Regions from separate parts of the Homo sapiens genome. Here region 2 is linked to region 1. The links are contacts of gene promoters, found by promoter capture Hi-C in blood cells and fetal thymus (Javierre and others, 2016). All regions are on one chromosome and are shown on one strand. Each heading gives the region's core, a stretch centred on a gene start or on the middle of the fragment in contact. The rest is flanking DNA. Distances are from core to core; before and after follow the strand shown.

Region 1 (4,233 bases), core at 1,154-3,653:
CAAACTTTTGTTCTGGTCATTTTATGAGTCATCTGAGCACTTGCAGAACCATAATGGCAAATAGCTAATACATGGCACCTTTTCAGTTGCTCACATTGGATACCCAATTCCCTGCCTTCATTTATGCATTATTGTGGTTTTGACCACCTACTGGTTCTGATGAGAGAGGAAATCCCGTAGTAGGAGTGATAGCCAGAGCATCTCTTGCTGAGGTGACCCCCTGAGCTGATTATAGCCCTATGGGGTATTTTGTTTTGCTGATACATAATACATTGAAAACACTGTATATAGAATTTTTTGAATGCTTAAGTGGGGCCTCCATATACACTGAGATCATTTTATCCCCCTACCTTCCACTGCACTTCACTGACACTTAACCCCGAAGACATTTGCATTGGAAACTTCGCATTATCTGTTTGAAAGTCCTCTCAGTTCAAGCCACACATTCTAAGACTCAGCAAAAGCTTATTGACACCAAGGGCATTGAATTCACCAGCACCTGTAACGTTTCTTGAAGAATGCTTGCTAGGGAAAAGTTCCCATGGTAACTGTTTTTAAAAGAGTTTTGTAGCATCAACAGGTTAGACAGGAAGTCAAAATCATGGAGCTCAGCAGCATCCCCTATAAGCACGTGCTCCTTTTTAACCACCCCTAACAAAGACACTGAAGCACCCTGTTCATAAGCCCTGATGGGCACTGGAGGGTCTGGCCAGGTTGGGCTGGATTTCAGGGGACCTGATTTGTGTTTCCCTGTGCAGTGCTCGTTTCCATCACCATCTTTAAGGAGGAGGCCTTTTCCATCCACTGGACTCTTACCATCGTGCCTGTTAAGGAACAAAAAGACAACTGCTTAGGCCTGGAGGGTATGTGGAAACCACCAGTTACCTTTGAATATACCTGTGGTGCTCGAACCTCCTTTAGAAAACCCAAGATGCCATTTTAATGATGCTTTGCTCTTGGGTATCAAATTTACTCCTTAATTTACCTCAGGAGATGTTCTAAGAGGAAGCCACAAGATTCCATACCTGCTGTTGTTGTTTTAGAGCTGGTGGATTTTTTTTTTTTTAATCCGCGGAGGAGGACTTGACCCTGTGGGTTCCTAACTTGGATGGCCATGCAGAGCACCCTTAACTTGGAAATCTATATCCTGCTGTTTAAACTTCAAGATGATTCCTATCTGGATTAAAGTCCTCAACCAGCAGGCCGAGGCAAACTCTAAAGAAAAACAAGGTCATGCTGCATTTTTTTTTGGTAAGCACAGGAATCAACAAAGAGATGTTATATAACTTCTATTTATATCCTCCTTGCTCACTATCTGCAGGCAGACAAGAGTCGCTGAGAAGGGATTTAATGAGCTCTCTGGGTTTGCTCACCTTCCTGAGCTGGTAGGAACCAGCTTGTTCTCAAATGCGTCAGTAAAGAATCTGGCTGTGGGTGGGCGGCCAGGGTAGGTGGACTGCGTTGTTGCTATGGTGTTTTTTAATTCCCCTGTCTCTCAAAGATCTCACTCCCCCCTTCCCTGACTCCTTCCTTTTGCCCCCTTCCTTTCTTTCTTTCTTTTTTTTTTTAAATCTGTAAGCTTCCTTGTTTCTCACACCTACTCATGATTCTTGGAGCTGTCTCCGGAAACAGAATATTTTCCCTCTCCTTCCTAAGTGCTCAGCTCCCCCATTGTGTAGCCCCGGGACATCAGAAGTTGTTTTCTAAGGTGTGTTTTTTCCACCCTCCCTTATTTCTTTTCCCATGATTTTTTTATTACCAATCCCTCCATGAGAGAGACCTATCCTAGGAGTCTTCCATCTTGCCTGATAGAAGTTTTCTCTGGCATATTCCAAATTCAGATTGCTCCAAAACCAGGTGAAGTCTGTTGCTAGTTGGACAGTCGGTATGGCCTGGAGGAGAAGGGCTGTTTGTATTTCCATGCATCCTCCTTTGTCCTCTTGCCCTGGGTGAAGCAATGACGTCTCTGTCTCCTCTAGTGCGTTATAAAATAGAACCGCAAGAAAACAAGAGAATGGGTTTACCCCACAATCATAATTCCTGGAGCTTGGGTAACTCCTGTTACCTGAAGGTTGCAGGTTGAAATGACTCAGCTTGCATTTAATTAAAAAAAAAAATGCTGCCCCATCAGATTCTCAGCAGGGACGACGAATGCACCTTGCTGAGAACCCTATGGCTGCCCAGGGAGTGGCCCCCTGCACCCTGGCCGGCCTGGTGGTGGCCACAGAGGCTTCTGAGATGGCTCTGTGTTGTCCATCACATTCCCACCAGAGCAGAGACACTTAGAAGATGTGAGTAGGGAGGTTAGGATGAAAAGTTCTTAGAAAAGAATATGTAGTTCCATGAGGACAGGCTGAAAAAATTTTTAAAAAGCCAAACCCACCTCTGCCTTGCCCAGAAGTTGTGCAATCCTTAATAGCAGTAGCCTGTTTGAATAATCAGAGGCAAGCTGACTTCCCTTTATTAACTTCTGTTAGAGACATCTGCATAAAATATCCCCGGATTCCAGACCAAGTAGGTAATTTTTTTTTCCCCTCTGAGTAACGGGAGGGACTTTCCCTTTGGAAATCTTCCAGCAGAGTTAACTTCATGGTTGAGACTGTTTTCTCATTATAAGGTGCCAACAGCTAGATTCCTGATGCAGGGACAGTGAAGGCGCCTCATGTACACACTTGGATCCCCTGCTTCCCTGAGAACTGACTTGATGTTCACAGTTGCCTCTGGTTCTTCTGCCTTGACCCTCCTTTTCACGGAGAAATCTATGCCCGCTCACATTTCCTGAGGTCCTCTGAGTTCCTCTTTGAAACTGTCAGAGGCTCTCTCAAAGTTTCTACCAATTTCCTATTCCTGGGTTTTAGACTTTTGATCAAGATGGCTCTGACACTGAAGGGGATAGTCCTGTAAACCCTCTGAAGTCTTCAAGCCTCGTTTTTCCCCTGGAATTCAGGACTTTAAAAATATATATATTTTATTGCTCTTCGAGGAGGATGTGTTGCAGTTGCCCTCACCATATGGTATTTGAGAAATATGTTTTTATTAGCCTCCTTGCAACACAAACCCACAAACTGTTGAGCCCAGAGCTTGTAGCTATCAAGTCTGGGGAGGGAGCCAGGTTTGGAGACGGAAGGTGCACAAATGATCATCCCTCCCGGGCTGTAGTTAATCATGCAAGCTGCTGTGTCACTGGGGCCGGGGTAGTTAACAGTTAACTCGATGGATTAAGGATCCTCAGCCAGGCTGAGCCCATCACAGAGTTACGTGCAAAAACCGGATAAGCCCGTAGAGGTGACAACACCACATCAGCTGCCTTTGGCTGGTCTGCGGTGTGCTGCATATTCCCACTTAGCAGGACTTTGAGCTTTCACATGCAGGCTTCTTCTGGCCATAAAGTTATACTTCAGCTGCCATGGATGCAAAGCTTGGCTTGAGTGTTTCGGAATTGCACCTCCTTCAGGATTATTGTTCATTCATTAATATAGTAAATTTTTTAAAAAGAGAGAAGAGGCCTTACTGTGTTGACCAAGCTGGCCTTGAACTCCTGGGCTGAAGAGATCTTTCTGTCTCAGCCTCCGGAGTAGCTAGAACTACTGGCTTGTGTCACCACAGCCGGCTTAATATAGCAGATGTTTACTTACTGAGCACTCCCTGGGTGTCAGGTGCTATACACATTGGCGTCAATACAGTCAGGGATGAGACCAACATAGCCCCTGCCCTCCAGGAGCTTACAGTCTTGTGGGAGACAGAGCTAGGAAATCAGCTCATCATCAGCTAAATCAGAGCTTCAGAGAAGTGTGATGGGGAAGCAAACAGGCGCCACGAAGCGTGGCCAGGGAGGGCTTCTCTGGGGAGATACCGTTCAAGCTGAGACCCAACAGATGCGAAGAGAAGGAGCTGTGTGAAGAGTAGCAGAGGGCAAGAGTATTTCAGAAGAGGGTTGGCTTGTGCTTGGGATGTTGGAGGAGCTGAGTGAAGGAAGCTAACGCGGTCTACCCCATGGTGGTCGGTCAGGGGCAGAGCTGCGGAAAGTATCTGCTCCACCAGGGTGATGGGCTTGTCATCAAGTCGGGGCTGGATGAGGTGATCTCTGTGGTTCCCGCCGATCCCTAGTCGGTGCTTCTAAAGGGCACCAAGTTGGCTTGGGCCTGTCCCCTGCTTGGATATGCGCTGCCGCCGCCAAAGCCCTAATATACAAAGCAGCTTTACCCAGATGAGTGCTGTGTGATTTCACCCTGC
Region 2 (4,233 bases), core at 521-3,020, 150 kb after region 1:
CTCTCTGCTGATTCTTCTTCCTTTTCTGCAACCCTTTAAAAATGTAAAAAATCATTCTTAACTCCAAAAAATCAGCTGGGGCCTGGATTTCTCATATGGTGAAAGATCAATTGCAGCACATAGTCCAAATACATTTTGGGGCCCAAATACATTTTTGTACTTAAAAAAATCTCTAAAATTACACACTATGGTATCTGTATTTATTTTGTTTAAAACTCCAGTCAATTAAAACATGGATGAAACCCAGCATTTATAAAGGTGAAAGTAGGAACTTGCAAAATCCATGCATACGTCTTTGTGCATCATTAAAGGGCCAAATTCCTTCAGCTTTACATAGATTCTTCCATGGCTGATGAGGTCTCATGGCTTTTTAGGAAGTGGGATAATAAAACTAGCTCTGCCACACTGATGGGATTTTTTTAAGGTGTCCCAAAATGTTTCATTTGTCTCATCAATGACTGCTGTGAAACAGGATCTTGGACAAGTTAACACTTTATTTTATTTTATTATTTGAGACTGGGTCTTGCTCTGTCACCCAGGCTGATGTGCAGTGGCAGCAACATGGCTCACCGTAGCTCAACCTTCTAGGCTCAAGGGATCTTCCCACCTCTCAGCTGGGACTACAGGGGTGCATGCCACCACTCCTGGATAATTTTTGTATTTTTTGTAGAGACAGGGTTTCACCATGATGCCCAGGCTTTGTCTTGAACTCCCAGGCTCAAGTGATCCTCCTGCCTTGGCCTCCCAAAGTTCTGGTATTACAGGCATGAGCCACCATGCCCAGCCACAAGTTAACATTTTTAATGCCTGAAACTCCAGAAAGAAGGACAAAGTAATGGTCCCTTTAAAGTCTCACTGACCTGGGTTACCATCAGTGCCCACACAATGCCATTCACACCCCCTCCCTAAATCCAGGAATACTGCAAAGCAATATTTAGTCATTTCGTGGTGGCTCATGCCTATAATCCCAGCACTTTCTGAGGCGGGCAGATCACAAGGTCAGGAAATCAAGACCATCCTGGCCAACATGGTGAAACCCTGTCTCTACTAAAAATACAAAAATTAGCTGGGCGTGGTGGCGCGTCCCTGTAATCCCAGCTACTCGGGAGATTGAGGCAGAAGAATCACTTGAACCAGGGAGTTGGAGGTTGCAGTGAGCCAAGATGGCACCACTGCACTCCAGCCTGGTGACAGAGCGAGACTCGGTCTCAAAAAAAAAAAAAAGTTTAGTCATTTCCTGCATCATGACATCATAGCCTTCCCCTATTAAGTTATCTAACTGAGTTACAGTTCAAACCGCTGTTTCCATATCAGGAGCTGTTTGGTTTAACATCTCTTCAGCAAAGGTACCATGGGAGCTTTTCAGAAAACTTCAGCTTAATATTCCAACTTATTTTCCTGAGGAGATCCAGCTGTGAATAATAGTGTTGATTCGGTATCGCTGATCATTTGCCAGAATGTGCGATTTGTAAAACTTTGGCAGGGAAAATTGTATTACAGATGTTACATTGGAAAACCTCTGAACTGCCGTGAAATGTAATTGTGTGTTGGAGGGCACGTCATGTCGTTAGCAGGCTGAGTTTACTCTGTTTGGGTGAACAGTGCACATACACTACAATGGGTAGCTGCTCTGTTTATATGAAAGTCAGAGAGACAGAATAATAATCCAACCCTCGAAGACAGCTATAATTACAGCATGTTGACTCCGTCCCCTTGACAGGGAAGCTGCAATGTTTCAAATAGAAAGCTCCATTAGCTAGGTGACCAATTAAGGAAGCAGAAAACAGCGAGAAGGAGGTATAAAATTATCTTGTTAAAATTCTCTTCAAAAATAGAGATATTTAACACATAACAAGAATATACAGTCTAAGGCAGTAGAGAATTTTATTTAAAAATAACCTTGTCCTGTAAAAGTAAAGCTGATCTACGATAAACTGTTCAAATATCTGTATCCCATTTAGAGACAAAGGACCAGGCTGAGCAACATAGTGAGATCCTGTCTCTACAACAAATTAAAAAAGAAAAAATAGCCAGATGTGGTGGCACAGGCTTGTGGTCCCAGCTACCTGCAACTCTGAGGTGGGAGGATCTCTTGAGCCCAGGTGATTAAGGCTGCAGTGGGCTATGATCGGGCCACTGCACTCCAGCCTGGGTGACAGAGTGAGACCCTGTCTTAACAACAGAGAGAGAGAGAGAGAGAGAGAGAGAGAGAGAGAGAGAGAGAGAGAGAATGGGCTTTCATGCTAGAAATAGCTATAATTTTTTTTAAAAAATAATGTGATATTTACTTATATTTTATATTTAGAAAATGTCATTTCCTACATCTAAAATGGCTTTTGAAAATGGAAAAGCAACCAACTGAAATTGTATTGAATTAATTATATCAATACTTTCTAAACTTCCAACAGCTCTGGTGAATCACTATTTCCTATTCTATTGTTTTTTACTATATGGTTGTTTCACATTTTGGAAATAAGTGAGAAGAAACAGTAGAAAATAGACTGTTTGATTTGGTTTTGAATCCTTTGCCTGGATGTATCTGGATTCAAGGTCTATTAGGCTGAATCATATGAAATTGCTGCTTATTTAGTTAAAATGACATCAAATATTGGCAATTTCATAAGTGGTTGCTGGCTACCACTTCAGTGTTTCTTCTGTTATCTCTGTGATAAAGTCTTTGGTCCTTGTCAATTGGCCATGGGTAAATGGGACAATTACAGGATAAAAACTTTATTCTTGGATAATAGGGTAATAAACAATAATAATAACAGGTAGAAAATAGATAATAACAGATAATTGATATACAGATATTAGCTAGGTAATAGGTAGGTAGATAAAAATAATAGTATCGATAGAATTTCTGCTGCAAGGTTTGTATGTCTACAGAAGAGTCTTCTCTTCCTTCCAGTCTTTTGGAAAAAAAAGTAGACACTTTCTCACTATGTTGCCCAGGCTGGCCTCAAGTTTCTGGGCTCAAGCAATCCTCCTACCTTAGCCTCCTGAGTAGCTGGTACTATAAGCATTCATCCCCACACCCACCAGCTAGCAAGCATTCTTTTAACCTTCTGCAAGTAAGAGGTTTTGACGCCCTTCATTTCATTCTTTTATTTGCTGATCATTATGATAATAGTAGTTAACATTTCTAGTGATCTCTTAGCATCCATGGGGATTGGTTCCAGGACCCCCTCATGGATACCAAAATCCAAGATGCTAAAGTTTCTTTTATAAAATGGCATAGTGTTTGCATGTAACCTATGTACATCTTCCCGTATACTTTAAATCATCTCTAAATTATAAGTAATCTTATAATACCTAATACAATGTAAATAGGGTTATATTGCACTGTTTTTTATTTGTATTTTTTATCTGTATTTTTTTGAATATTTTCTACTCGAGGTTGGTTGAGTCCTTGGATGCAGACTTGGGGATATGGAGGGCTGACTGTCCAGTACTTACTAAGTTACTGGGCGTATAATAAAGTCTTTACATGTTATTATTTCCTCCTCAAAATGACTCTGTGAGATAAGCATTAGTATTATAATCTCTGTTTTACAGATGAAAGCTTTGGGAGAGCAAGACAGCTACAAAACCTATTTTTCATTCTACAGTGTATTTGATTAAATGGAGGGAAGACAGGAGAGATGGAGAAAAATTTTGGCCAGTCAAACTTCAGATCCTCAGGTCAAATGTAGCCTTGGTGTCAGAATCTGGAAATTCCTATTGAAGTGGTTTGGTGGCCAATTGTACTTCTGATCCTTGAATTTGAACTTTAAAATCCACCTTTGGGTGTGACAATATGATCCCAGGACTTAATTAACCTCTTAATATGTCATTATCTTTATCTGTAAAACAATACAAAATTATCTACCTCATAGAGTCATTGAGGTTTCCAATGATATTTTACATCCTTAGATGAAGACATACAAAATAATATAACCTATTCCAAAACTGGAAGGAAGCACTCTTTGGTTTTTGTGCTTTCATAATAATTGCTATTTCTCATTTGTAAGTTTGTGGCAACAGATGGACAAGAAAAAATTAGAACTCATAGAAAATATTTTGATAGATATCAGTTTTATAGATTTATAGTTTCTTTTCCTAAACTGTACTGTTCAACAAAAATTATACAAACCTTTTGACTAGGAGATGCATTTTTAAAGGCATATAGACTCTTAGTAATTTATATCCTCTGTACAGCTTATATTTTCTATATCACGAAGAATAGGAAAGAAA

The links. The method cuts DNA at HindIII sites, captures the fragments that hold promoters and counts their contacts. A CHiCAGO score of 5 or more calls a contact.
Region 2: a fragment that was not itself captured here is called in contact with the fragment with the promoter of EGOT in region 1 in 12 of 17 cell types (activated CD4 T cells, endothelial precursors, M2 macrophages and 9 more); the score reaches 15.4 in activated CD4 T cells.

Annotation. Positions count from the first base shown.
Region 1 is chr3:4,749,187-4,753,419 of GRCh38, forward strand. EGOT (eosinophil granule ontogeny transcript) reads right to left here and starts at 2,404. Exons shown (of 2, transcript NR_004428.1): 1 at 1,760-2,404; 2 at 6-824. All of the region lies in intron 44 of ITPR1 (inositol 1,4,5-trisphosphate receptor type 1), which reads left to right. RefSeq lists an enhancer at 457-526. The HindIII fragment of the contact is 1,839 bases long and covers 1,578-3,416 here.
Region 2 is chr3:4,900,665-4,904,897 of GRCh38, forward strand. It overlaps BHLHE40-AS1 (BHLHE40 antisense RNA 1), which reads right to left. Exons shown (of 3, transcript NR_125916.1): 2 at 1-33. Among named protein-coding and RNA genes, the nearest start is that of BHLHE40, 77 kb to the right of the region's middle. The HindIII fragment of the contact is 3,580 bases long and covers 1-3,560 here.